6 separate regions of the Homo sapiens genome follow, and regions 1, 3, 4, 5 and 6 are each linked to region 2. Evidence: promoter capture Hi-C in 16 types of primary human blood cells and fetal thymus (Javierre and others, 2016). All regions are on one chromosome and are shown on one strand. Each heading gives the region's core, a stretch centred on a gene start or on the middle of the fragment in contact. The rest is flanking DNA. Distances are from core to core; before and after follow the strand shown.

Region 1 (4,648 bases), core at 66-2,565, 1.6 Mb before region 2:
CAAAATAGATCCCATGCTAGATGACATTTTTCTTCTAATCTAACACAATTTTTAACATCTAATTAGTTGTCAATCTTTAAAAAATCCAGCTCTCTAGCTTTTCTTTGAAAATATAAAAAGATCTGGAAAGTGGGACATACATTTTTCCTGGCACTAGTCAGATGGCCCTCAGTGGCTGCTGAGCCCTTTACATGGGGCCTCTGTCCTAAGGTTCGCTGCAGTCCCCACCATTCCCTGCTGCCCATGCCCAGACTGCTTGCCTCATTTGTGTCCCCTGCCTGGCCTTCCTGTCACCCCTTCAGGGAACTGTGTGAGAACAAGGCCGACATTGGGGAAAGCAGCACTGGAGATGGAGACAGAATCCCCATGATACATTTGAATACCAGGACCCAGGGTGAGTTTATAGCCCCGATCTAGGCATTGACTCCTCATCAATATGGTAATTTAATTTGTTTGTTAAAAAGGTAAAATACAAGTCATCCAGGATAACTTGGGGAAGCCAGTTTCTTGTATGGACTGATTTACAAAAACTAGAGAGATAGAACAATCATGTTGCTTTTTTCTTGTGGAAAGACCTCTGCTATGGACTGAACTGTGTCCCCCAAAATTCGTATGTTGAAGCCCTAACATCCAATCTGGCTGAGTTTGGAGTAATGAAGTAATTAAGGTTAAAGTAGGTGGTAGTCTGATAGGATCCTTATAAGGAGAGATAGCAGAACGCTCGCTATTTCTCTCTGCCACGTGAAGACACTGTGAGAAGGTGGTTGTCTGCAAGCTGGGAAGAAAGCCCTGGAACTAATCAGCAGGCACTTTGCTCTTGGGCTTCCAGTCTCCAGAATAGTGAGAAAATAAAATTTAAGCCACCCAGCCTATGGTATTTTATGGCAGTACCAGAAGATTAACGCAACTACCTTAAGGAAATTAAGACTGTTTAAAAATGGCCATAACACTTGTTGATGTATTAATGGGTGCTTCTTAAGAGTTGAAACAGTGTCAGCTCAGGAGCTTAACTGTCACTCCTGCCGTCTTTTTCATGGTATTATATTACTGTTATATTATGTTTAACTTATGTTACAGAAAAAAACAGATGTAAGTATCATTTCTATCAGAGCTAATTATGTAAAGGCCGCTGTTACACGTATGACACAGCCAACACATATCCACAGTGGAAGACACAGTATTATCCCTGGAAACAAATAATATAGTTGGGAAGAGAAGACATATGCTCACAATAAATACTGATGCATAAATGAAAATGCATTATGCACTGCTAAAATTGCTTTATACAGTTTTAACTATTGTCAGAGTTTAGAAAAAGAAGAGATAAATGAGTTTGAAATAATCACAAATAGGTAATTAAATTAATCTTAACTATTAATTGCTAACTATACATCAAGCATGAGTTAAGTACTTTGCATCTACTGAGTCATATGAGGTTAAGAAGTTTGCCCACTGGCACAAAACTAACAAGGGGTGAGTTAGGATTTGAACTCAGGCTCCAGAGGCTGTGCTCAGATGAACTATTTCCTTCCTGATCCTTCAACCAGCTGCAGGCTGTTTGCAAGTTTCCCTTTGAACTGATGGCTGGTAAAAGTCACAGGCTCTGTCATGTCCTTCTCTTGTGTCCCCTAGTAGACAGTCCTGTTAAGTACCCAAAGCAGGCCTCATCATTGTTTTAATTAGTAAAGTTTCAGGAAATGTCTGTGGAATAAAACCTATAAAGAGGAACTCAAGAAAAAAAATAGAAGATTTATTATCCCACAAGCCTTAGAAATCTCCAACCCAAAGTCTCAATAAGAACAGTTTACACAAGAGCCTTGGAGGAAACTGGGAGAATCGCTTGAACCCAGGAGGTTGCGGTGAGCCGAAATCGCGCCATTGCACTCCAGCCTGGGAAACAAGAGTGAAACACCATCTCGAAAAACAAACAAACAACAAAAAAACTATATCCCTTATTCCCCAAACCTAATCAAGCACTACTTCCTCTGTGCCAGGTCTTAACTACTTGTTGAGGATGTGGAAATGTAGATGGCATGATTTCTGGTCAGCTCATGTGGTGGAGAAGACAGACCCACAAATCAAATGCTGTGTGTAATGCATTGCAGTGTCTACATGTGTACTTTGCATATGGAAAGTCAGCCTGGGAGGGAAGAACGTCAATCTTTTCTCTGGAAAAGCACATGTCTGAGCTGGTTTTGAAGGATAAGAAATGACTGGGAGGTGTGTGAGTGTCTGTTGGAGGTGGATAGATAAACTCCACGCACAAGAGTATGAGGGCAAAAAGATTAGTATCAAGCAAAAGCAAATTACTTTTCATGGAGAACAGAGTTACAACAGTACCCGTATCTGGTATCTGTGGTTCTTCCTGTCCAGCATCCACACTTCTCTCTGAAAAACATCCTGATTGTCCCTTAGGCCTCACCCCTTTCTTATTTTCAGTCTCTGTGGTCTGGGTGGGATGAACCCCACCCCAATCCTAGTTCCAAGACTGGTCATAATGCTGGCAGTCATGACCTCACAACATTCTATGCACCTGGAGCCTGGATACAGTGATGCCATCAGGTGTGGTATGTGATCACAGGCAACTCAGGAACAGCTCTCCAGCCCCAGGACTTCTGCTGGAACCGCTGGGAGTTGGAAGCTTTCTTCCCACTGAGGGGCAAACCTTCTAGGTATCTGAAGATGTTGAAGACCATTTCCTGGAACAGCAGAGGTAAATGCCCAGAGGATGAGAACACATAGCCATTAGGAGAGCCTGAAAGTTCAGTGTGACTGAAAGATGAAGTTCAAGAGAAGGGACAAACTGCAAAACACAAGCTGGAGAGTTTTAGGTAAGAGTCATATCACAAAAAGCCATTAAGCATTTTAAAATGCTTAGCCTTTATCCAAAGACTAATGGAAAGGCACTGACATGACCTAATCATGAATGAGAAGATTTGATTAAATATATCTCTCTACAATGATGGAGAATGGACCAAAAGCAGGCGGGGACAAGGACAGTAAACTCTGCTAGGGACTGCTAGAATGACCCTGAAAGAATAGCCCTGAAGATAGAAAGAAGTAGATAGTTGCCAAAGATACCTGTGGAATACAAAAGTACCAGTGCCCACCAGATCAAACTACACATGGATCTGAATCTCAGAAAAGGGCTCCGAGCTAGGGAAAGAGATTTAGAAGCCTTCAGCAGAGAGATGATGTTTTAAGCCTTAGGAGTGAATGAAATTACCCAGAGAACATGCATGATGAGAAGAGAACCTGGAACAGCAGGGGCCAAGATTTAGGATCTGTCAGACAACGAGGAGCCCAAGACTGAGACCTGTTAATCCAAAATGCACCATTTTGTAAGCTCCCTGCCAATATGCAGACCTTGGTCAAAGTGAAACATTCCACGAGGGTTCGGGCCATGAGAACCTGCCTGCCCAACCGCCTGACTTTAACACATTCTGCTGAGAAAAAGTCCAAGGAACATCATTATTACATTCTGTGGGAACAAGGCCCCAACTGCCTCATTGTGGGAACGTCTTCTCAACATCTTCCCTGGCAGCACGCCATACTGCCCAGACCCCTCCCTGCCATACCTACAAGTATCCCAGCCTGTAAGCAGTGGTGGGCACTGGCATTAAGCTGGTCCTCCACCTCGGCAGGTTTACCTGGACATAAATACCTGCATTTGCTGTTGAGCCGCCCTCTCGCTCTATGTGTGTCTTTAACCCTCACCTTCCCTTGGAAACCTAACAAGAAGCAGGAGCCAGGAAGGTAGGAGGAAGACAGAAGCCCATGGTGTTAAAAACAGCCACAGGAATTATGTAGAACAGTGATTCTCAAAGTGAGGTCCACAAACTCTCGGGGCTCCCATGACCCTTGTAGGAGGTCCACACAAGCCAAAATATCTCTATATGGATACTAAGGTGTTATTTGTTGATTTCATTCTCATGAGCACATGAATGCAGAATGGAGATTTCCGGAGGCTACCGGAAAGGTGATATTGCAACAAACTGGAGAAACAACATCATGAAATTTCTCCATTTTAATTTCTAATAAATATCAATGTTTATAAGCAAAATGGTTTTTTTGGTGGGGTGGTTTTCAACAATGTAAGGATAAACAGATCCTGTGATCAAAGAGTGAGAACACAGCCATAGAGAGCTTTACAAAGGGCATCAGTATTAATGTCAAATGTTACTGAGGCCTCGAGGGAACTAACCAGTCAGAAGCAACCATCGAATTTAGTAATGGACTTCACTCACTTGGTGAAAGCTGTTCCGTGTCATGGTGGCAGAGACACAGCACAGTGGCTGAGAGTGAGCAGGAGCTGTGGAAGTTGAATAATGCCTGAAGGGACCATTCTTTCTGTGAGTATCCAAACCAACTCATGGTAGCATGAACCCATTTCGTCTTCTACTACCCTTGGTAAAAAACGAATGGCTATCACTGAGGGCATTAACTGGATATTTCGTGCACCACTGGGCGCTGAGTGCCACAAGGTCTTTAGTTCTATTTAGCCACCCCTTTTCCAAAGCCCAATACCTGAAGCATCTCAGCGAAATGCCATTAAGATGTTTGTCACACAGGTAGTCATGGCAACGGTATGTTAGCCTGTGCTCTGTTTTCAGCCTTTTGTTGTTAACAGGTCAACAAGGAGGGCAGG
Region 2 (5,016 bases), core at 965-3,464:
TCCAGAGCCAGGCACAGGCTCTTCTGTTGCTGGGGGAGAGGGCGGGGGACGGGGGTGGGGGGGTGGTAGGGGGACCATCCTATTCTCTTACAAAGCATTATGCAGGCAGCTTCTCTGAGAGACTTCCGATATTCACTTATAAGCACATCCAGGCAAATGCTGACCCCCGTGGAGAAACAAAATAGAGACAAAACTGCAATTTTCAAGTCCGAGGGACTGCACTTTTGCAAACAGGTCCCAGGGCTTCAGCTAAGAGAAAACAGCCTCGGCCCCAGCAGCAGCCCCTCTCGTGGACCGCAGAGGAATGCCGAAAGCAAAACAGCTATCATAGCTGCTCCTTAGCCAAGCAGGCAAGATTCATCCACGTTAAGCCCAATGCCATTCTCTAGGCTGAACCAAAGCCGAACGCTGACGGAGATCTCCAATAGAAGGTTTTCTTCAAGTCGAAGGTGTTGGTAAATATTTTGGGTCACTTAAGGGCATCTCAAAGGAAGCCGACACTGACTTTTTCCATGCAAATAAAATACATCGAACATCAAGTTGACATGCCAGGTTTGCTCCTAACTGCAACCTTACCAAGACAGTGAAAGCCGAAAAGTTATAGTTGTATTTTTCTACTGCATTCTGCCTGTCTGTGCGATTTGTTTGTTAAGGAAATGGGGAGAGATTTTCTAAAGCAAAAGCTACCTGTTCCCAAATCATGGGTCTTGATTTTAAAAGGTTTGGAGAACTGAGATTTCAAAAGCACATGAAGGCTGCTCGTGACTGTTCCCGGGGTTCATCTGAGCCTTTAGGATTTTCTCCACTGCTTGCATGGGGTGGGGGGAGGGGAGGAATTGTCATTTTAGGATACGCTTTCTATAGAACCAACATGTAGCCACACCAAGGTGGGTAGAAAGCTTTCCAAACTCCAGCGAAGACAGACAATACCTGACTATTTTGCTTTTCCCACTCACTAGGATTGGGCGACAGCTGAGCTGGTTCAGCAGGGAGTCCAGCTCCCCGGTGCCCAGGCAATGGCTCTGGACAGCACCGCGTTCCAGGCTCCCCGGCGCGTCCTGGACTGCTTGGCCGCGGCTACCCTCTCCCGCCCGCCTTGGGGTCAGGGCGCTGGAGTAGACCGCGTTTGCAGGAGGCGCGCAGCGGGCTGCTCTTTGGCCAAGAGGAGGCCATTTGGCGAGGGTGGGTAGCTTGGGGAGGGCAGTGTGAAAGCAGGGGAGGGCCGCGGGGCGTGGGGAGGGGCTGCGGACAAGCCAGACAGCGCCGGCCGAGACATCTCCGGGGCCCGCAGGTGTCCCGGGAACGCACCACTGTGCGACCGCGGGCAGCAAGACACTGGAGAAGGGCTGCGTCGACGCCCCCGCCCAGCAAAACCCCTGGAGGAACTGGGACCTGGGGGGGATTTGGCCCAAGGCAGGGCGGGGAGGGGGCTCGATTCCTGCAGTCGCGTCCCCACCCGCCTCGAGAGGCTGAGTGCCCCGGTCTGTGGCCCCCGTGCGTCCCGAAAGGATCCGCAAGGAAGCTAAGGGTTTGGGGGAGAAGGCAGGCGGGCTCTCCCCAGGCGCTAGGCAAAGGGGAACGCGCCGGGGGCTCCTGGGTTCCCAGGGTCTCCCCAGGTCTGTCCAAGTCCGGGAGATGCGCGCTGCCAGGGACTTGAGAAGGAGGTAGCCGCCCGTTCACCCAACTTTGTGCGCCTCGGCCGGGGTCGGGGATGGGGTCCGGGGACGCGTTACCTGGGCACTGGAGCGCAGTCAGCGCCAGCAGGAGCCCGAGCGGCGGCGCCCGGCCCGGGGGCGGCATGGTCCTCGGCGCGCGGTGGGTGCGGCGCGGGGCTGCTCCTCTCGCGCGCCCGGCCCGGCCCGCGGCTCCCGGAGCAGCCCCCGGCGGCTACGCCCGGGCGCCGGGCATGGCTCGCTCCCAGCGCGCCGCTCCTCCCCAGACGCATGCGCCGGCGCTGGCGGCGCTTCCTCGGCTGCGCCTCTGCGCGCTCTCCTGGGCTCGGCCGTGCGTGGCTGGGGAGCTGGGGCGGCCGAGGCTCAGCGCCCCGCGCCCTGGCCGGCTGCCCCGCAGTTGGCCCGAGTTGCGCGGCCCCCGCCGCCGCCGCCGCCGCGGCTCCTGCGCCCCAGCGCCCGTCCCATCCCGGTCGCGCCGCCGCCGCCGCCGCCGCCTCTGCCATCGCCATCTGCCGGCCGCCCCTCGAGCCAGCGAGAGAGTGAGCGAGCGAGCGAGCGCCGGGGGGAGGAGGAGGAGGAGGAGGAGTAGGAGGAGGAGGAGGAGGAGAGGAGCGGAGGGCGGGGCCGCGGCCGGGGGAGGGGCCGCCCGGGAGCCGGGGCACAGGCGGCAGCCCGGCCAGTAGGCGGCGGGACGCGCCACTGCTCGGCGGTTCGGGGGAGGGCGCCCGGCCGGGAGGCTCCGGGAGCCCGCCGGGGGTCGCGGGCGCTCGCGGGTACAGGGGCTGCGGGAGGGGTGCGCAATGCAGAGAGGGGATGCCCAGCTAGATCCGGCGTCTTGGGGCGCAGCGGTAGGAGTTGCCAAGGTCGAGGGGTGAGGAGGCCAGCGGAGGGTCACCGGGATGGGGCAGCGACCTCTGGAGAGGTGGTGTCTGCCGGGGCCAGAGACTGCAAGACTGAGCGCGGACAGGAGGTCCCGGGTTAAATGTGGCACAGCTAGGGAGTGCCTGTGGGAGAGGGGAGAGGAGAGAGGGGAGGGCCTCCGGGAGGCCGAGGCTGTGTGCAGAGCCTCTGCACGGCACCGGGATGGGGGCTAGGGGTGCGCAGGCTGGGTGCGGTGACCTGAAACACAGCGAAGGCGGCCTGGGGATGGCCACCCGGGTGAGGCAGGGTCCCTTATTTACCCAGGCTAGAGGATGCGCCTTCCCATTTCGCGCAGGCCCTAGGAGCACGCGGAGGCAGCCAGGAGTTCTCCTGGGAAGGGCAGATTCCCTGGCGGTCCCGGGAATGAGTTCCCAGCGCAGGGTCAGGCAGTGACGGAGCGGAGGTGTTGCGCAGGGCCGGGTACTAGGTGGTCGAATTCTTCCATCCAGGGGCAGGGACGCAGCCAGAGTGCGGAGGGAGGTCACAGGTCACACGGAGCCCCAGTACCTATTATCCCAGAAACCACTGATCCTCCTGGGCGCCCCACCCCCAACCAGGGCAAAGCCACGGGGGGCTAAGCCGAATGAATGAGTCATGCTGGGAGCATGTGGGGGAGCCTCCAGCAGCGCTCAGATGCCTTCAAGCTTCCCCACCACGCTGGGAGGACAGGGGATATGGGGGGTTGCCCACCTGGGAGGGTGGCTTGGAGTCCTGGCTCCGCCCCAGCCCCCACCACACCAGCCACTTGCTCTGCCATCTCAGTTTTCCATGAAAAAGTGGGTCAAACTCTTTGAAAATGGTCAATAAGGCAGCGTGGGGTGATGAAAAGACAGATTTGGGGAAGGCTCTGGAGTCATGGAGTCTTGGCTGAGAATCCCAGCTCTGCCGCTCCTTAGCTGTGCAAGCTGGGGCGAGTCCCTTATTCCTCCCTGAGCCTCAGTTTTCTCATCTGAGAGATGGAAGGCATTGCACATCACCTGGTGTCCCCAATAACACATACAAAGCCCCTGACCTAGGAAGTCGGAACTCATTTAAAGGAGTCAGTGTCAACATTATCATTCTCATCATCATGGCCATTATTATGATAGATCTGATTTTCCTCTGCGGGCCCAGAGCTCACATCAGAAGGACAATCCTCCCCACTCCCGGCTGCCAAGAGGGGATGGGGGACAGGGCACCTGCTTGATTAGTACAGACAAGCTCATTAGCAGAGGCAGCACTCAGTTCTTCCTAGATAAAAGAAGGAAGAAAGCCAGGGGCAGGTGGTGAGTCTCCAGCCCAGGTTAATTAGGAGACGTAAAGGGATTTTCCCGTGGCTGTTAATCGGCTTCCTTTACAAGGGGCCCATGCCCAGGCCAAGCCCCCTTTGGGCTCCCTGGCAAGGCCTGCAATGTGTGGAGAGCCATACAACAGGCTGGACGACGGGATTGGGGGTCTCCTCGGGCTTAGGGTGGCCTTGCGAGGGGCCCATCTGTCCCCTTTCTGTGACCCTTTCCCCAGATAAGAGGATGATCCTGGAGACGTGGTCAGGACTCTCTTAGGGTCCTCTGTGCCCGGCTGCCCCCAACACCTCTTTCCTGTTCACTTGTTCATAAGCATCTGCAGAGCTGAGCACCTACTGTGTGCCGGCCTCTGCAGGGGATGGTGAAGCAGAAATGAATGGACGACAGCAGGGGAGAGCCACAGCAGGAGTGACCGCGGGGTGCTGGTGCCAAGGTGAACCGTGTGTTTGACCAGGAAGCAGGTCAGTGAGGCTGGGAGACTGTGGCCAAAGATAAAAGTCATTTTCTGGCAGGGTAAGGGGTCATTCTGTGGCTTTAGTGGCGGTGCTTGGAGAGGGTTGTGAATCAGTCCAGCAAGTCCCCAAGCCAGTGGTCACACAGTCCCAGGTGTGATGGCAGATGGCAGTTGCCTTCCCCCCAACCCCACACTCAGGACTACCTGGTCATACTCCAAGAAAGCACCTTTCAGTGGGGAAGGGCACTTCCCCATTAAAATATGCTGATGGTGGTTGAGCCAGACGCTGAAGAGAGGAATCTCCTTTTGAGGGTAGCTTTTCCATGCCCCAGCTGTGTGACTCTGGACAAGCCCCTAATCCTCTCTGAGCTCATACGTGGGGTAGGGATGAGAATTCCAGCCTGGCTCAGCCTGTCTTGTGGTTGGATGAGGATTTCTGCATATTAACCATGCCCCTAAGCCTGTATCTCTAAAGGGGGTGTTTCTGGAGGAAATAAGCAGGGGAAAAAAGCCTCCCTGGATTCTGAAGGGCGGGGGGGAATCTGAGAGGCTGGCGGCAGTAACGAGGAGACCCCAGGGCTGAGCGGAATTCTCCTCTCACTCCTACCTAGACTCTCGCCCCCAGCCTGCTGGCCTCATAGCCTGGGCAGGACCGTAAGAATTACACAGCCTACAATCTCCCCCT
Region 3 (4,969 bases), core at 347-2,846, 1.7 Mb before region 2:
TCCTCTAGTGTGTTTACAGTATACCTGTCTTTAATAGTCTTTCTGAAATAATAGTTATGGAAATACTATTATAAAAAAGTGAACTGCTGTTGCTGAAAAGAATTTTATGACAAAGTTACAAGGCAAGAAGTTGCATATGCACGTCCTAAATGGCCTTCAAAGCAACAAGCAAACGCTGCTCTATAGGCAGCTGTGCTGTGTTGAAGTTTAACATATAGTGACATGGTTTGGCTCTGTGTCCACACGCCTATCTCACATCAAATTGTAATCCTCAGTGTTGGAGGAGGGTCCTGGTAGGAGGTGATTGAATCATGGAGGTGATTTCTAATCATGTAGCACCATTCCTCTAGTGCTGTCCGTGATACAATTCTCACAAAATCTGGTTGTAAAAAAGTGTGTGGTGGCCTGGCGCGGTGGCTCACGCCTGTAATCCCAGCACTTTGGGAGGCCGAGGTGGGCGGATCACGAGGTCAGGAGATCGAGACCATCCTGGCTAACACGGTGAAACCCCCTTTCTACTAAAAAATACAAAAAATTAGCCGGGCGTGGTGGCGGGCGCCTGTAGTCCCAGCTGCTCGGGAGGCTGAGGCAGGAGAATGGCGTGAACCCGGGAGGCGGAGCTTGCAGTGAGCCGAGATCGTGCCATTGCACTCCAGCCTCCGCGGACAGAGTGAGACTCTGCCTCAAAAAAAAAAAAAAAAAAAAAAAAAAAAAAAAAAAAAAAAAAAAAAAAAAAAAAGGGGTGTACGGCACCTTCCCCTTCTGCCTCTCTTTCTTTTCTATGGGTCATGCGAAAACATGCCTGCTTCCGCTTTGCATTTCCACCGTGACTGTAAGTTTCCTGAGGCCTCCCCAGAAGCAGAGGCCTGTGCAGTCCACAAAATTGTGAGCTAATTAAACTCCTTTTCTTTATAAATTACCCAGTCTCAGGTACGTCTTGATAACAGCGTGAGAACCAACTAATATATGTAGCCAAGGGAGGTTATGTACCATTCTAGCCTTCCTGTCAAAGCAGCATTAGAAACCATTCATAGGCAGGATTCTGGCCCCTCTTCTCGTGGCAGGTGAATTTTGCTTTATATAAGAGAAGAGTACAAGTTGGCATGTGTTGTGTGTCTGTTACTTGCAGCATCTCATTACTACTTGCCTCTATGCAAGTCTTGAAGTGTGGATTATCTACTCCAGGTACCTACTCTAGTGTCCTACATTCAATCCTTGTTACTTGAACCAACAAGTGGGGTGGCGGTGGGGTGGTGGGGGTCTTTCAGGTGTCCTGCTCTGCATCCAATCTTTCTCAGAAGCACTAGATGGAGACCAGCAAGAAGGAGATGGTCAGTATAAACAAACTTCCCTTATGTCTGTGGTGCTTAGGGATTCTTCCCTATCATGCAATTCCACACTTGACCACCAAGGACCATTAAGATACCTGGCATTTTCTACTAACAAGCTTCTCTGTCACCTTTCCCTCCATGCTCTCACTGACTGTGGAATATGGAAGGATGGCATCCCATTGTCTCATACAACAGGAAGTCCAGAGATTGGTGGCGTCCAAATGGTTCAGCAGCTCAGTGATGTCACTTACTGTCTTTGCATTCTGCCACATTAAGAATTTTTGCTTTGTGATGTTGAACTTATTGCCCTTGGCTACAAGATACTGATCTAAGCAGATGGTTAAGGGACTCCTTGCTACCAAGGCATATGTTATCCAGAAATAAAATATTGCCCAGAAGCCCCCGCAAGCTTTCCCTTGCATCTCGTTTGCTAGAACTGGGTGAACTGCCAGTCTCTTAACCAATTAGAAAGATATAATCATGACCAGTTTAAATTTGAGGATTGGACAAAAGAGGGAGGCTTGACCAGTTTAAATTTGAGGATTGGACAAAGGATGGAGGCTTACTTCCTTGAGGGCAAGAGTTTACTGCCTACAAAATACAAAATCAGGATTCGATGAGCCAGAGTGAAAAGGGGTGAGAGAATATAAAAGCAGGTCTATGTATAGCCTATCAAGGTAAAGAAACATCACAGATACATGACAGACTCCTGCATGCCACTTCTTAACCTCATTACTTTCCTTCTCTCTTCAGCAGCAAATGGTTATTGACTAAAGTGAAAAACATCGTAGAATTTACCAAAAATTTAGGGCAGTATTTAAGTTAGATGTAGTACTGAGGTTTTTTTTCCAGGGTTTCAGAATCACCAAAGCTGTTGTTGGTCCATTTGTTGATTATGAAGATCTTTCAAGTAGGGTTTATTTTTTTAAAAGAATGTTTCCTCAACGTGACCACTTCCCTGAATGTAGCAATATTATTCCCCTTTTTAGGACTTTTCAGAATGGGATGAATTTGTGAATCTAATACTGTTGATTTTATTATCTGCTGCTTTACTTTTCCCCAGCTGTTTTTTCTCTCTGTGCTTCATTTGAAATACTTCTTGTTGCTATGTCCTCAAGTTTACTAATCCTTGATTTTGTAATAGCTATTCTGCTGTTAATCCCATCCCATGTCATTTTCTTCTTAGTCATTGTAATATTCTTCTCTAAAGGTTTGTTTTGTGTCTTTTAAAAATTCCTTTCATGTGTCTACTGAATCATTATCTTCTCAAACATATGAGCCCTATTAATGATAACTGTTTTAGTACCTTTGCCTGATCATTCCATCATTGGTGTCATTCTTTCTGCCAGACTGTGTAAAAGTCACATTATGTTGTGGGATTTTCTTATTGCATTATTGCATAAATATTCATGCACTTTGCTATGAGACAGTTTGGCCTTTTTAATACTTGCTTTTAAGCTTTGTTAGTAAGGACCCAGGCTTACTTTAGCTTAGTGTTAATTTGGCCCCACTACGAATGCACTATCCTTCTTAATACTCAACCTGATGCTCCATGTACTAGTCAGTTTCTCCATTTTCATTGGTGGAAACACAAACCATTTCTGACACTGTGTGAGAATAATATTTCCCCCTGCATCTCTCCCTTTTTTAATATACTAGTCTCCATTATTGTATTTAAGTTCTTATACTAACTCTGTAAGATATGAACTGTCATTCCCAGTTTTTAATTGATACATAATAGTTGAACATATTTGGGGGGTACATGTGATATTTTGATATAGGCGTACAGTGCGTAATGATCCAGTCAGGGTAATTAGGATGTCTATTACCTCTAACAGTTTCTTTCCTTACATTAGGAATATTCCCATTTTTCTAGTTATTTTGAACTACACAAGAAATTATTGTAAACTATAGTCACCATACTCTATTAAATACTAAATCATATATTCTTTCTAATTGTATTTTTGTACTCATTGACCAGCCTCTCTTCATCCACGCTTCCCTCTCACCCTTTGGTCCTTCCCACAGCTCAGACCATTTCTCTGCATTCATACATTGATCAGCACTTAGCTGAAGACTTGAAAGGAACTCTCTGTGGGAATGAGAAATGTCTCCTCTCTCCCTGTAAAACAAAAACAGAAACAAACAAACAAAAACCACCTCTTTTGTCTACGGCATCCTATGAGCTCCAGCTGCCTTGGTCTCTTTGGATTTCCATGTCTATCTTCTCAAATCTGAAAACTACTGGGCTCTGCTTGGATTCCCCTCTCTGAGTTGTGCCTTGGTAATGTTCTCCAGGAAATAAGCTGGAACAATGATAGGACTCAATTAATTTGCTTTCCTTAACACAGGGATTAATATACTGTACCATCTAATGCCCAATGACTGAAAGCAGTTGTTTTATTTTATTTTATTTTAACCATTTCTTTAGTTATTTCAAGTAAATGGTTACATTTAGTCCCTGTTATTCTATCTTGACCAGCTACTGACACATCTCATGAGCTCCTTTATTTTTATCATTTTATCCCTGACTTTTGGAGATTAAAAGACATCATCAGCACATGCTAGCTTAGAAAATGATCCAGGCACTCCTAATTCATTAAGTGATTGCCACAAAAGGGATCAAGACCTGTTTGCCTTGGTAAAGCCTGACATATGGTACCAATGTGCTTCTTGCATCCTTTGGATCACTGCTAATGCAGAGCCTGCTGCTCATAGAAGCATTTTTAATTATGTGCCATTGGCACAAACACTGAAACAACAAGCTTAAGTGTTCAGGGTTTGCACAGGAAATTCTTCAAAGGAAAAAGAGAAAGAAAAGGTCTATAGGATTCACATTTTCCAAATTTTTGTTGAAGAATATTTATTTAAAGAACTATGTTGAAAACACTTGGCAGAAGCATGCTAATGCTGCCCACAGCAAAGAGAAGTTGAATTTTAAAACTTACACTCTAGTGAATACCTCCAAAGAGGAGCCAAGCAATTGATCATCAAGCCAGGCTCACATGGTTCATGGAGGCAAGCTTGGTGCAGGAGTAATCCCTTAAATATAATAGGATGATTCAACAGAATACACTCCTTTATTGGACTTTGAATTCATTCTACTATGGGGAAAGCTATTTGGAATCCATGGGTATAAAAGCCTTTGTCCTGAACAACCTGGGATGTTGAGCTCCCAACTCTCACCAGTGTCATGAAGACATTATAGTTACTCCATACTCTAAACAACTCTTATATATAAAATCTAGATTCTCACTAGTGATAAATTACAATAGTGCTATTCATTACATGTAAATACATTTAACAATTGTGCGATAGGCAAAATTTTCCAGACCATTATATACACAGAGAGTCTTACCAGGTGCTAGTGAAAATAAATGAGCAGCAGTTAAAAGCAAAAATCTCTGCAGGGACAGGACAGGTAACATCAATCAGAGAAGCAGATCTGATGTTATTTAATTGGCAATGTAGGGTGTGTGCCTATCTGGGATTAGAACGTCCATCCCTAGGGGCAGCCAGCACTCACTGCAGGATGTTGACACCAGTGTCTGTGTGTGTGTGTATTTTAAATTGCGGTAACAACATTTGACATAAGATGTATCTTCTTAATTTTTAAAGGTATACAATATACCTGCAGG
Region 4 (4,504 bases), core at 1,388-3,887, 1.6 Mb before region 2:
AGGGTATCTGATATGATTTGGCTGTGTCCTCACCCATATCTTATCTTGAATTCCCATGTATTTTGGAAGGGACCTGGTAGGAGGTCATTGAATAATGGGGGCAGGACTTTTCCATACTCTTCTCATGATAGCAAATAAGTCTCATGAGATCTGACAGTTTTAAAAAGGGGAGTTTTCCTGCACAAGCTCTCTCTTTGCCTGCTGCCATCCATGGAAGATATGACTTGCTCCTCCTTGCCTTCTGCCATGATTGTGAGGCCTCCCCAGCCACATTGAAATGTAAGTCCATTAAACCCTTTTTCCTGTATAAATTACTCAGTCTCGGGTATGTCTTTATCAGCAGCATGAAAATGGACTAGCACAGTATCCCAAGTGGACAATATTTTCCAATGTTCAAGTTGTTAATTACAGAGCAGTTACATGGAACTCTAATCTTGGAACAGGTTCTATGTGATTATGAGGCAATCAGCACCAAACAGCTATGAGGAAGCAGTTCAGAGAGCAGGAAGCAGTTCAGAGAGCAGGCTTCCCTCATGGTGAATGCTAAGCGTGCTGCAAGCTGGGTTCAGTTCCTTTTCCCCAGCTTCCTTCTTCCCTGGTTCATTTTCTAAAGTTTACAGGGACAGTTTCACAGGTGAACGGTCAGCATTCAAATTCCCGCTTTGCTACTTATAGACTGTGTGACCCTGGGGCAATCATTTAATCCTTTTGAGCCTCAATGTTCTCACCAGTAAGATCAAGAAAAAGTAGTAACTATCTGGTAAACTCTCAAAGAAGATTGGATAAAAGAATGGCAATATGAATGAAAAAATAAATGAAACAATAAATGTTGTATTCTGGCTTGTTCCTGATATAGAAAATAAGAAATAAAATTAAGAGATTAAGTAACTTAGACACTAAGTATTAATTAGGTTAATTGACAGCAATAATGCATGGGGCTCAGAAGCAGCTACTTAGGAGGTGAAGATTTTGTTTAGAAATCCAGCTCCACCTTTTATTGATTTGGTGACCTTGAGAGAGTTACTTTAACTCCCTAATGATCAGTTTCCAAATCTAACATATGGGGAAATTTTAAATGGTTAAAGTAGAACTTAAAGTTTCCAGATTCAGTACTTTGGGGATAAATTATGTAGAAAATTGAACAAATGAGCTGGACAGATGTGGCCACTGTGTGTTCTCTTCTATCACTTTCTGTTTTACTTATATATGTCTCATTGTCTACTCAGAAAGTGAGTCACTGGTACCATATCCCTATCATGTATATCTCAGGGGTTTAGTGAAGAACCAAATATTCAGTGCTATAACGATTCTGACATTTCTATATACAAGTAACAGAAATTGCTAAAATAATGGCTCACACAGTCAAGGCACCTACGTATCTCCTAGTGGAGAAAACTGTGAGTAGGTGATTCTAGATTGATGCATTGGTTTAGCAATGAAACCAAAAACAGGGGCCCTTTGTACAATCCATGTCTGCCATCCTCCAATGTTGATTTTTCATTCTCCTGCTTAGCAAATCATGTTCACAAGATGGCTGCACAGCTTTCGCCATCACAGCCTTTTCATGGCAGAAAGAAGAGGGAAGGTTCCTATCATATTTTTCCTTTTGTTAAGGAGGCAAGAGTTTTCCCAGAAATCTCAAATGACTGTCTAAGACCTCATCGGCCAGCACTGGGTCACATGGCCACCTCTTGTTAGAAGGAAGTTTGGTAAAGTGAGTGCCTGGCTTTGCAGGTATTTTAGTGGGAGGGGACAAAGGAGAAGGTGGTGAAAATGGCTGTTGTGTTAATTGAAACAGTGTCGGCCACAGCCGCAGAATAAACATGTGGAGAAGGTCATTGATCACCTTGACTGAAGCACTGCAGACAAGATAAAGACAGCCTGATGCAGAGGAAGATTGAGGACTAAGGGGCTTCATCCACAGGTGAGCTCACATCTGAAAGCCGTGCTTACATGAATGTGAAAATATCTCATCCATGGAGTTGCCCACCTCTTGCATTTAAGAATCAAACTTCACCCTTTCTGTCTCCAAAGCTTCATGTTTATATGGTAAAAAGAAAAAAAAATCAGTGTAACTCAGATGCCTCCCAAGTTTCATCCCACTCTTCTCCAAAGATAGTGTTCTTCCTTGAGTAGTCTTCTCTTTTGTCTACTGTGCAACAAGATGTATAACCATCACCTTCCCCACCAGATAACATGCTAGGATGCTTTCTGTTAGGATATGAAGAAGAGTGATACTGACATGCTAGTGATAATACTCTTGGAGCTGGGAAACTTGCAGAGTAACCAGGCGTCTACTGACCCACCACATTTTTACCTTATGACCAAAGACAAGGCCCTGTCATAATAGACTGTCATCATAGGAGGTAGCATGCATCCATTCATCCAACAGATATTTACACAGTGGGTCCTAAGTGCAGATATTGAAATGATCAGGGTTATAAGACACTAACAATGCCAACGGAGTGGGTTGATATAGAAATTTATTCTAAGTGCTTTATGTGCCTTTTCTTCTTGTTCTGAATGAAAAACATGTGAGGTATTTTCTGTTATGACGTCACTGTAGAAGTAAAGAAACGGAAGCTAAATGGCTGAGTAACACAGCTGTCAATAGTTAATAGTTAGTAAGGGGCAGAGCTGGAATTTTCACCCAGCCTCCAGAACCCCATGACTTTAGCCACTATATGTACTGCCTGTATGGTGAGAAATAAAATAGACATGATCTCTGTTTCCATGGCTAGGAGAGAAAGAAGGACATGAAACCAATTCACACATAAATATGATTTTAAATTGTCATAAGGGCTGCAGAAAAATATAAACAAGCTACCAAGACAGCAAACACAAAGCAAAGTCATTATTTATACTGAGAGTTAAAGAAGCCCTCTCTTCCCCTCTCTCACCCCAAAAATGTGACATTTAAGCTAAAACCTAATAAACAGAGCACATTATCTTGTTGAATAATTTGGGGAGGGGAAGTGAGACTGGTGGGGAGGAGCAAAGTCCCTGGGCAATGGGAATGGCCTCAGCCTGAGATAGAAATGGGTTTGGCAAAGGAGGAGAGAAACAAACAACGGTGTAACTGTGCTATTGCTGCAACAATGCTGGGTAACAGACAACCCTAGTCTCAAGTATAGGTCTGTTCCAGGTGTTTCTTCATTTTTCATGCAAGCAGTTACTGGGTACAGCATGTTCTTTACATGGAGAATGGCAACAGCATAAGAGGAACAGACAGAAGCTTTTCAGTAACCCTTAAGAATTTTTCTTGCAATCAGTCACTTCTGCTCACATTTCATTGACCAAAATACAAGGCCCAGCCAAGCTTCCGTGGGAGGAATTGCAAACTCACTTCACACAGGGTATAGATTCTAATGTAGAGAAGAATAAAAATTTAGGAGCAATAATCCCATCTACCTGTGGCCCAAGGTGTTCTGAAAAGATGGCTATTTTTGTGGCTTTGGGATATGTTCTTTGGGCCAGGAGGAAGAAGGAAGGAGTTAATCAATGAAAGAATTAATCTGGAGAAGTATGGGAAAGGCCTCATGCTATGTCTAGGGGTTGGGTTTTATGCTATCAGCCCTGGAAAAGTACTTATGAAGCCTTCCTGAACAGCTTCCTTAAAGAGAATGTTTGTTTGTTTGTTTTGTTTTGTGTTGTTTTGTTTTGCTGTGCTCTGGAAAGCCAAATCTTGAGCCATGATCATCCCAGCCCGGCTAAGCATTCCAGGAAACACGGCTGATTGTCCATCCCTATAATCATTTAGTGGAAATATATTTCTAAGGATGTTAGAATGGTATTTTAAAGAGCATCATTCACTTGAATTCAAAATCTTTCTAGATCTCTAGAATTCAAGTAATTTTTCTTGCTGTCAAAAAAATTTTTCTCAAACTTTTTATCTTAAGACAGACATAAATGTAACATTCTTATGGATACCAGATCTTATCAGATAAATGTCCTTGTTTTAACATTGTTTATAAACATCTAAAATGTTTAGGCCTAATTGTAATGAGACTGTAAAGAAAGATACATAGTAATTCTTATGTTTCACCACACCCCTTTATCAAAATTTTCAAAATGTCTCATGAAATCATAAGCTAAGTCAAATTTTATTTGATCTCATGTAAACATTCAACATATTAAAAATATCTGTTATCAGCTGCCCTCTTTGCTGGGTAATTTAGAAGATGAAAATTTTCTGACTACTTGGAGCTTAGAGTCTGCTTAGGGTAGTCAGATTGGCATTGAGAAAATTAATACACATATTAATATTTAATAATATTAAAATTAATAGTTTAATTAAAAGACATGTTATGATGGAGATGATTCCTCTTTTCAGTCAATCAATCAACTCTAGAAAGAGATTTCTGCAGCATTCTCCTTTTCTTGTGCCATCTGAAATTTTTGCAACTTCGCTAAGTCGTGAATGGCAGCCGATTTAGGCAAAAGGGAGCTACGACCACCAGTGGGTATCTTGGAATTCCAGTCCCCAGTTTGGATAATTGATTTC
Region 5 (4,764 bases), core at 1,211-3,710, 1.9 Mb before region 2:
TGACTTAAATAAGTTTTTTAAACCTATTATTATGAGTACGTCTATTGATTGGGTTGTTTCTGCAGCATTTGCATCTTTGTCTTCTGGGCATCCTCACGTCAATTTCATATGGGCCTGAGTCTGATTTCTTTTTTGTGACAAAAGTTGCTTTAAAAAATAACTGAATATGCCAGTGAAAGATGAGTGTTTAGGAAGTGGAGGAGGTTGTGTGACTGGATGTCAGTGGCCATCCAGGGAAGGGCATGTCTCACCAAGTTGGCGAGCCCTGCAGGAATTACCTGTGGACCAGAAGTGAGTGTGGATGGATCCGTTACATTTTATCCCATGGAATGGGGAGGCATGTAAAATAATTCATAGGTTGCCTTCTGCTGAGGGAACGCAGACATCTGCCTTTGTCTAGATTGAGAAGGGTGTGAATAACCAGATCTTGGTGGAAAGCTGCTGTTTTCTTTAGAATGTAAACGAGATAAAATGGATCTGTTCTCAATAATAATTATTACTTAGATTGTGTCTGGAGTTTTCCACCCTGCCTTCTACTGGATGGAATCCATTTTCATGTATTCTTCAAACTGTGACTCAGGATTCTCACTACCTCTTTCCTTCCTTTCCTTGTTTCCTCTACTTTCTTCTCTTCCATCTTTCTCTAATCCTTCTCCTCCTATTCTTTACCCAATTATGTTATGTGATGTCTAAGCACCCCAAACTGCACTGATTTAGGTCATTGCAGGTTTAATGTGTCTTCTTCAAATAGTATTTTTTTTTGTCATTGTCACTCAAGTATCTGTGAGCTCAGTAACACAGAAGACTTTGTAAGAACTCTCATGTAAGATACCTTTTATCAGACAGAAATATGGTGTTGGTGAAAATCTCTCAGCATATATGTTGGCTTGTAGTATAGCTACCACATGCCAACAAGGTTGGACCAGTAAAGTTATAGGGCTTATTGAGAGCTCATGTATCCATCCAGTGGCTCCCAAACCTTCATGATTTGAGTTACCTGGGAAGTGTGTGCAGCACACAGATTTATACATACTGCATCAGAATCCCCCAGAAGTTGACAACTGCAAAAAGTTCTCCACAGATGATGCCAATGCTTAGCCAGAGTTAGGGATCACTGTCTGTGCTAAAAGGGACTGAATTTTCCCAGAAGAGGATGTTATTTTCCCTCATTGATAGACTTTGCTACTTCTGACCTTGCAACTTACCACAAGGTTTTCCTGCTGGTGGTCAGGTCAGCTCTCTGCTTCGGATAAATTATACTTCCCTGGAAATAGATGCTAGAACAATCACTTCAAGTATGCTACTCATCATGTGAAAAATGGTGGAGCTCCACTGTAAGAATGAACCAATGGAGGCAAGGTATTTATATCAAAAAGAAGCAATTAATTGCTCAGGGTAATCCCAGCAATCAAAACTAGGTTCCAATAAAGCTGCAGACAATTGAGGATGCCTGTGAAAATCATTTTATTCCATCTCTTCCATCTCAAGTGGTTTCCTATCTTGATTGACATCCTGGGAGTGTTTAATACATGCAGATGTGCTCTTTTACCTAAAATACCAGGATGTATTTCATTGTTTGCCTAGCTAATGCTGTTGTAAAAAAAAAAAAATAGAAAAAAAAACCCACTTCGAGTGGCATAATACAAACCTAACAGCTAAATCCAGAGGAATTTTATAAAATGCCAAGCTTGAAAAGATTTAATTATATTGTTATGACTAATTGCATAGTGCAATACTGTGAGTATAGTACTTATTGTTTTTGGGAGTTGTTTTCCTTCCTTTCTAAATATACTATTTTAAGAGCAGTTATAGGTTTATAGAAAAGTTGAGTAGAATGTAAAGAAAGTTTGCACAGACTCCCTCACCCCTCCCAGGTCCCCCTATTATAAACGTCTTGCATTGATGTGGTACATTTGTTAACAGTGGGTGAGCCAATAATCATACATTATTATTCATTAAAGTCCATCATTACAGTAGGGTTCCCTCTTGGTGTTGTACATTCTACAGGTTTTGACAACTACATAATGTCATGTATCCACCACTATAGCACGATACAGAATAGTTTCACTGCCCTAAAAATTCCCTGTGTTCCATTTGTTTATCGCTCCCCACCCCCCAACCCTGGGAACCACTAGTCATTTTGCCTTGTTTTGTCTTTTGAAGAATGCCATATAGTTGGAATCAGACAGTATACAGCCTTTCAGATTGACTCATTTTACTTAGCAACATGCATCTAAGTTTCCTCTATATGTTTTTTGTGGCCTGAAAACTCATTCTTATTGCTAAACAATATTCAATTGTGTGGATGCGACACAGTTTGTTTCTATGGAATGGCATAGGTCTTTGAACTTAGTATGGAATAATGCAGACCATATTCTTTCCCAAAATAGAATTAAAAAATGATTTTTGGTGTCATTTATACTCTCGCTTTATCCTCTCATCTGTGAGCTGTCCCTTACGCCCAAATAAGTTCAGATTAATTTTAATTAAACTCTTTGGAGGTTTCTAGCTCCATAATTGAACACAAAGAAGACAAAATAATGCAGAGATGCATTCAAATAGGGGAATTTTTATTTGTGGAGATTTAGAAAATTACAGTTCTCAGAAAACATAAGTTTTGTGGTGATGGGTCAGTTTACAGTAGATCAACCCTCCCATTTAGAACAACTACATTAATTAACTGGTAAAGCACCAAAGGAAATAACGTTTGTTTAAAGCATTGCAAAGCTATCTTGTTTCCTCAGGTTTTGAGAAACATTGTCCCTAGGAGAGAAAGGAAGCACTTCAAGGTGAGCCCAGCGTTTGATTCTGCCTTATCATTGCGATATTTGCTGACTCATAAGCAGTGAAGAGTAGAAACCCGAGATGCTAAATAGAAAGTGAAACTAAAATGCAGCAAATGCCAGGCAGAGCTTTTACTGATCTTACAGTTCTGGGAAGGCTGAATGTACAGTTAAGGGTAGCCAACCTATCAGTTAGGAAGGAAAAGTGAACCTGGAAATCTCTAAACTCCTTTGATGCTCAAGATACTTCCTTATATATAATAAATAAATAAATAAAATATTAAATTTATATAAATAAATAAAGACCAAGAGGCAAAAGAATCAAGTAGGAAGCAGCAGTTAGGAGGCTGAGGAGTCAGCAGAGCCTCTGCAATCCCTAAATGTGGAAGGAAAAACAGTTGGGTTCAGAACTCAGCAAGAAACATAGCCCCGGTAAATGACTCAAGCTTTATACTAAAAGATTGCATCCTATAAGCAAGAAAAAATAATCCCTCAAGACTTACAAAAACTGAACACAAGCCTCAAGTCTTCTTAATCAGATAATAGAAAAACAAATGCAGCCTGCATACATACACACTAACTGCTTCCCAGAAGCTAAGCTCATGCAAAGCCGTTTCAAAAAAAAAGTCTTATTAAAGATTTGTTTTAAAAACTATCAGGTTTACCAAAGGAAATTACCAAACACAAGAAAAATAAAATATTATTTAAAAACCCTCATAAACATATTCAGTAACATAGATGATGAGATGAAAAATTTTAACAGAAAAGAGCACTCTATACAATTATTCAAATGAAATTCTATTACTAAAATATACAAGATTTTAATTAATAAACAAATATGTGGGCTTAACAGCGTATTTGGCAAAACTAAGATGATGATTAATGATTGGGAATACAGGCCAGTAGAAAATGGTCAGATGGAAATATAAACAGAGAGGAATCAAACATAAAAACATAGTTTAAATGGACATTAAACATATAAAAACATTTTTGGAATGGAGAAATAGCCTGACAAATGTGTGTAATCAGTGTCAAAATTAGAAAAGAGAATAGAGAAGAATATTAGAGGAGATTCTGAGAGTCTCCCGAAACTAATTAAATAAATTTTGCTTCAATTTTAATAAATCCTACAATGGCAAGGAAAATAAATACAAATAACTTGGCAGCTAGGCTAATCAGAATAAAAATGTGGAAAGAAAAAAACAGAAGAAAGAAAAATAAACATTATATTAAAAAACGAGAGTGTCTTACGACACTCTTCCACAAATATACCCAGGCTTAGAAAGCTTCCAGATAGTAGAAAAAAAAAAATACATCAATGTCACATCAACTCTTCCACAGTAAAAGAGGAAAAACGTACACAGTTTCTCTATTGTCCAGCATAACCTTGGTCCCAACACATGGCAAAAACACTATAAAAAGAGTTCAGGGCCAGGTGCAGTGGCTCACACCTGTAATCCCTGCACTTTGGGAGGCCGAGGCGGGCAAATCACCTGCGCTCAGGAGTTCGAGACCAGCCTGGCCAACATGGTAAAACCCCGTCTCTACTAAAGGCACAAATAAAAAATTGGTCAGCCATGGTGGCACATACCTGTAATCCCAGCTCCTCGGGAGGGGAGGCTGAGGAATGAGAACCGCTTGAGCCTGGGAGAGGGAGGTCACAGTAAACTGAGATTGCGCCATTGCACTTTAGCCTGGGCAACAGAATAGGTTGGCTTTATTATGGAAATGGTAGGTTAGTTTACGTTTAAAAAGCCTGTCAATATAATCACTACAGTAACAGAATTAAGCAAACAAATAGAACATGATTCTTTCACTGAAGGAGAAAAACATTTAATAAAATTTAACCCAGTATGATCAGTTACTCAGAGCTATCTGGGAACAGAAGGAAATTTCCTTAAATGTATAAAAAACTTGTTCAAAACATATGAAACAGAACCTTACTCAATTGAGGAAATATTGACATTGTTCTGCCTATTAT
Region 6 (4,467 bases), core at 658-3,157, 1.7 Mb before region 2:
GGGCATTTAGCAGCCCTCAGGGCTCCTCTGTCTGCAGAGTGGCCATTCTTTTTTTCCTTTTCTTTCCTGATAAAATTGCTTTCACTTTTCTCTATGGACTCTCCCTGAATTCTTTCCTGTGCGAGATCCAGGAACCCTCTCTGGGGGTCTGGATCAGGACCCCTTTCCTGTAACACACTGACCCTCCCCAGTGTCAGGATCTGTGCCAGTGCCCTGAAGGTGGAGTTCTCAGAGGCTGCCCCTTCTGGTTCCTACCTTCTGAGAATTGCTAGGCCAACTCCTGCAGGTAGGTGGAATTCCTCTCCTTTGCGATTACATCAGCGTCTCTTAACTCTTGTCATCAGAGAAGTAGAGAGTAATCATCTTGAAATTAAAGCTGTGAGTTCTCAGTAAATTATAAAAGGTGACTCAGTAAAGGAAAATAAAGCTTTAGGGGAAGGGCAAAGCAGATGGAGTGAAACAAAGTGTGATTAGGAATTTCAAATACAGAATATGAAATTAAAATAGTAGCTGGTTCATAATATACACGAGTGAATTAAATACAGATCACTGAACATATTTCCCCTCTGAGGACATTTCTCTCTTCTTCCTCTTTGTTCATAAAGGAAATGCTAACATGTATATGAAGGAAGGAAAAAAGAAAGGGAAAGAGAAAGAGGGAGGAAGGGAGGAAAGGAGGGAGGGAGAAAGAAAGAAAGATTTTCCCTATATAATTTTCAATTTTGTCAATAAAAAGCATATACTTCTTTAACCGTTTAATATGAATCTTGCTAATTGTAGCAAATTGTTATTTCTTATAAAGGATGCATCATGCAAAACATTGTCTCACCCAAGCTTGTCAGCTTCTTCACAAGATTACAAAGTTGAGAGCAGCTGAGGCAAAACCGCTCTGGTATGTGATCTGTGGAATCCTTCTCATTCACAACAGGATTTTCCTATGAGGGGTCAAACACTTTCAGTTGGCTTTCAAGAAACCACAAATCTAAATTAAACAAGTAGGCAACACATGACAGAGGGCCATCATTTTATGGCAGGATCCTCCAATTAGCTGTAATGGCTACAAATCAAGAAAAGGTTAAATATTTCTGAATAATTTTAGATTTTGGGAAAAGGGAAGCAAAGAACATAAAGATTGTGTTTTATGATCTCATAAATCTCTCTTGGATTAAAAAACAAAAAATCCCTGATACTTTGGGAGGTAGGGTATACTGGAAAGTATTTCTTAGCTTTAACAGGGAATAAGCTATTAAAATTTTTGAAAAGCCAAAAAAAAAAAAAAAAAAAAAAGGATGCATCATTTCCTGTGATACGAGTGACAGGTAACAGGATAAAAACAGTAATAAAGAGAAAAATGTGATGAGAATCAAGATGTGCAGTAGTTATTTTAATTTTAAAAGTCAAATAATTCTCTCACTCGTAGGGTTAACTAAATGTTGAAAGCATTCTCTTATTCCTCTGCTGGGTTGATGGTGTATAGAAAATGCAAACATTACTTATTTTTTACAGAATCATTAATCATGGTGCAGGGTTAACATATGAAGACCTAGGGATTAGGTCTAATTATTACTTGGCATAAAATCCATTCAAGAAATATGTTTTCGTAAGAAAAAATGTACATTATGAAAATATGTTGACCTTTTGCCTCTGCTCCATAGGACTTCAGGGAGCAAAGTTATGTAGATGTCCTGGTTAAAATGGATTTTTTTTTGAGGGTCAAAACATTGAGGGTACAAGGAATCATTCATCCTAGGAGGTTAAGGCAGAAAAAAGAATGTTAGCAGGTTTTTCCCCTTCATTTCCATAAAAGCTTGATTTACAAACAAACTATACCTACTAGGGAAAAAACAAAGAAAGAAAAGGAGTTGATTTTGTCTTCTTGAACCCTTGGCGCTGAATTTTTGTCTGTTTTACTGGCAGTTAGACGACACTAATAGCTGAGAAAGCATCATAATGGAAGAATCAAGAAATTGATAGTAATCATATGGGATGAAATAAATTAAAAGCTTACATTTTGTAGCCCATTACACTGTGGTCTACATAACATTAAATTATTCAAATGAAATTGTAAAAAAGATCGGTTAATCAGCATTTAGTAAAGATGTCAAATTGTACCCCCCCACTCCTTCCCAAACACCACTAAAATGCAAATATTGATTCTGTTTGTAAGTCATAAACCCAAGAGACAAAGGGAAAAGGAGAGGATGTAATAAAAAAAAACAAACAAGAAACGGAAGTTGGCAAACAGTGGGGGGTCCCAGCAAGTTAAATCCTATACCAGTGGGGAGGGAAGGGGAGTCAAACAGCAATCACATTTATTCCACAGAGTTTGCCCCCCTCCCCAGTTCCAGGCACCTGGATACTGTGGAGGAAAAGGTAAATATTAAATTTGAACTCAATTGAAAGTGGACACAAACAATGGTCACCAAGTCCCGGAACAGGTTGTGTGAGCACCTTGAGGCGTTCATCTAGCGCTGTTTCAGAGAAATCTCTATTTTGATGTATTCCTATACGTCAGTTATTGAAAAACGATAGACAATTGCAAAAACGAGTTGACCTTTTTGTGTTCCTTGAGCCAAGTCGCAAGGGGCCCTCGTGACTGGGCCTCATGCCAAACAACTCGTTACAAAAAGAGCTCGGGTCCCAGACTGTGCCGAAGCTTCCTGAGACCTCTCCTCGGCCGTGCACGGACGAGTGGCCGACTCTGGAACCCAGGCTGCTCCTTCCCGGTCTGGGGGTGAATCCTCCATAGGCTGGTGAGTGTAAATACATGCATCTTTTCCCTTCTCCCCTTCCCATTGTAATTTGCGTATTGTATCATTTGCTTATTATATGATTTGCTTACTGTATCTGTATTGCCATATACTTGGGATAAAGGCTGTTTACCCTTAAAGGTATTGTGTGTGTGTGTCTTTTCTTCTCCCCTGCGCGTTTCCCGCACAGAACAGATACCCGCCCTCACTGATGTTGGATTCTTCTCCGCAGACAGCAAAGAGAAAGTCTCCGGCCTGGCTGGAAATGAGCGTCCATACTGAGCACATGCAAGGGTGCACTGAACACTGGGATGCACAGTCTCTTCCTCAGCCGTGCTCCAGGGTGATGACGGCAGATCAAGACCCTCCTCACAGGAGACCGGATGCTCCTTCTCTGAAGAATTTGACCAAGGCAAGAAGAAATGCCTAAAGCAGCCGGCATGAAGGCTTCAGGAATGAAACAACCCAGCAGATCACCCTACAGGGATCAGCCCCGGCAACCAGCCGCAGGCTCCACTGCTTAGTTCCCACTTTCTGACATGGACAAGCAAAAAAGACCACCACACACGAGGACACCCTTCAACGTAAATGACACCAAACAAAAAATAAAACAAGCAAACACACGTTGGCAGTCCAAGGCAGGAGGACAGCTTTGAGCTCAGTAGTGTGAGATCAACCTGGGCAACATAGCAAGACCTCATTGCTACTAAAAATAATAACAATAGAATAATCAGCTGGGCATAGTGGCATGCACCTGTAGTCCCAGCTACTTGGGAGGCTGAGGAGGGAGGATCGCTTGAGCTCAGGAGGTCAAGATGGCAGTGAGCTATGATCCTGCCACGGCACTCCAGCCTGGGCAACAGAGTGAGACCCTGTCTCCAAAACAAAACAAAACAAAACAAAACAAAACAAAACAAACAAAAAACCAAGAAATCAAAAAGAGTAAAGCAACCCTGAAGAAAAAGGAACTCTGAAAGGAGAAGGAAAACTGTTCTTTGCTATTTTAGCAAAGAATCAAGACAGAAAAAGAAGCATGGTATTTTGAGCTCTGGAGATTAATATTTAAAGTACAAAAGTAGTAAAGAATGATTGCCTGTGGTCTAGGGGAAATATGGAAGGGATGAAAAACTGTTTCATACTTCTTGTTTTTTGTTTCCTTTCTCTTTAAACAACGCTTTCCGATTATTTGAATTTTCTAGATAAGTACAGGCATCGTTCTGATTTTCAAAAAAATTGGCTACTAATCATGCCTGTTTTTCTTTTCTGTATTTTTTTTTCTTGGCAATGCAGATTCTTCAACTCAAAGACTTCTATAGCACACTCTTCACATACATATACTTACACACACACACACACAGATGCAGATTCACACATATGACATACAAGGGCATGGAGTCCTACACATGCAACAGTACAGATGTTATTTCTAGGCAATAGCTACAAACAATTTGAACACACCAGTTATGTGGGAATGTGTCTAGATGTCTGTATGGTCATATCCATATTACCTATTCCCTTGGAAGTGCTGCACACGTTCTGCAGCCTGGCACCCAAGTACCGTAATGCTGTGGCCACAACATGCATTTTCATTTCCAGCTTGATCTCTCTCCCCTTCTCGCTCTCTCCCTTCTTCCATTTCCCTTCTCTCCTCTTGCTCGCTTCTTCTCTTCCTCTCTCTTTTCCTTCCCCATTCTTTCTCCTCCTTCTTCTGTCTCCC

The links. The method cuts DNA at HindIII sites, captures the fragments that hold promoters and counts their contacts. A CHiCAGO score of 5 or more calls a contact.
Region 1: a fragment that was not itself captured here is called in contact with the fragment with the promoter of TMEM132B in region 2 in 1 of 17 cell types (M0 macrophages); the score reaches 7.4 in M0 macrophages.
Region 3: a contact is called between a fragment that was not itself captured here and the fragment with the promoter of TMEM132B in region 2, in 1 of 17 cell types (activated CD4 T cells). The highest score is 6.0, in activated CD4 T cells.
Region 4: a fragment that was not itself captured here is called in contact with the fragment with the promoter of TMEM132B in region 2 in 1 of 17 cell types (M2 macrophages); the score reaches 5.6 in M2 macrophages.
Region 5: a fragment that was not itself captured here is called in contact with the fragment with the promoter of TMEM132B in region 2 in 1 of 17 cell types (endothelial precursors); the score reaches 5.1 in endothelial precursors.
Region 6: a fragment that was not itself captured here is called in contact with the fragment with the promoter of TMEM132B in region 2 in 2 of 17 cell types (non-activated CD4 T cells and naive CD8 T cells); the score reaches 5.3 in non-activated CD4 T cells.

The regions. Positions count from the first base shown.
Region 1 is chr12:126,734,849-126,739,496 of GRCh38, reverse strand. The region is part of intron 3 of LINC00944 (long intergenic non-protein coding RNA 944); the gene reads left to right. LINC00943 (long intergenic non-protein coding RNA 943) reads right to left here and starts at 2,490. Exons shown (of 4, transcript NR_038256.1): 1 at 2,341-2,490. The HindIII fragment of the contact is 2,656 bases long and covers 1-2,643 here.
Region 2 is chr12:125,183,584-125,188,599 of GRCh38, reverse strand. TMEM132B (transmembrane protein 132B) reads right to left here and starts at 2,214. Exons shown (of 9, transcript NM_001366854.1): 1 at 1,734-2,214. The coding sequence starts at 1,800. RefSeq lists a silencer at 2,222-2,431 and an enhancer at 2,480-3,013. The HindIII fragment of the contact is 2,339 bases long and covers 902-3,240 here.
Region 3 is chr12:126,853,605-126,858,573 of GRCh38, reverse strand. No RefSeq gene overlaps it. Among named protein-coding and RNA genes, the nearest start is that of LINC02372, 19 kb to the left of the region's middle. The HindIII fragment of the contact is 293 bases long and covers 1,450-1,742 here.
Region 4 is chr12:126,758,352-126,762,855 of GRCh38, reverse strand. All of the region lies in intron 1 of LINC00944 (long intergenic non-protein coding RNA 944), which reads left to right. Among named protein-coding and RNA genes, the nearest start is that of LINC00944, 12 kb to the left of the region's middle. The HindIII fragment of the contact is 1,201 bases long and covers 2,037-3,237 here.
Region 5 is chr12:127,081,620-127,086,383 of GRCh38, reverse strand. The region is part of intron 1 of LOC107984449; the gene reads right to left. Among named protein-coding and RNA genes, the nearest start is that of LINC02405, 24 kb to the right of the region's middle. The HindIII fragment of the contact is 1,542 bases long and covers 1,690-3,231 here.
Region 6 is chr12:126,898,781-126,903,247 of GRCh38, reverse strand. No RefSeq gene overlaps it. Among named protein-coding and RNA genes, the nearest start is that of LINC02372, 26 kb to the right of the region's middle. RefSeq lists an enhancer at 1-871. The HindIII fragment of the contact is 196 bases long and covers 1,810-2,005 here.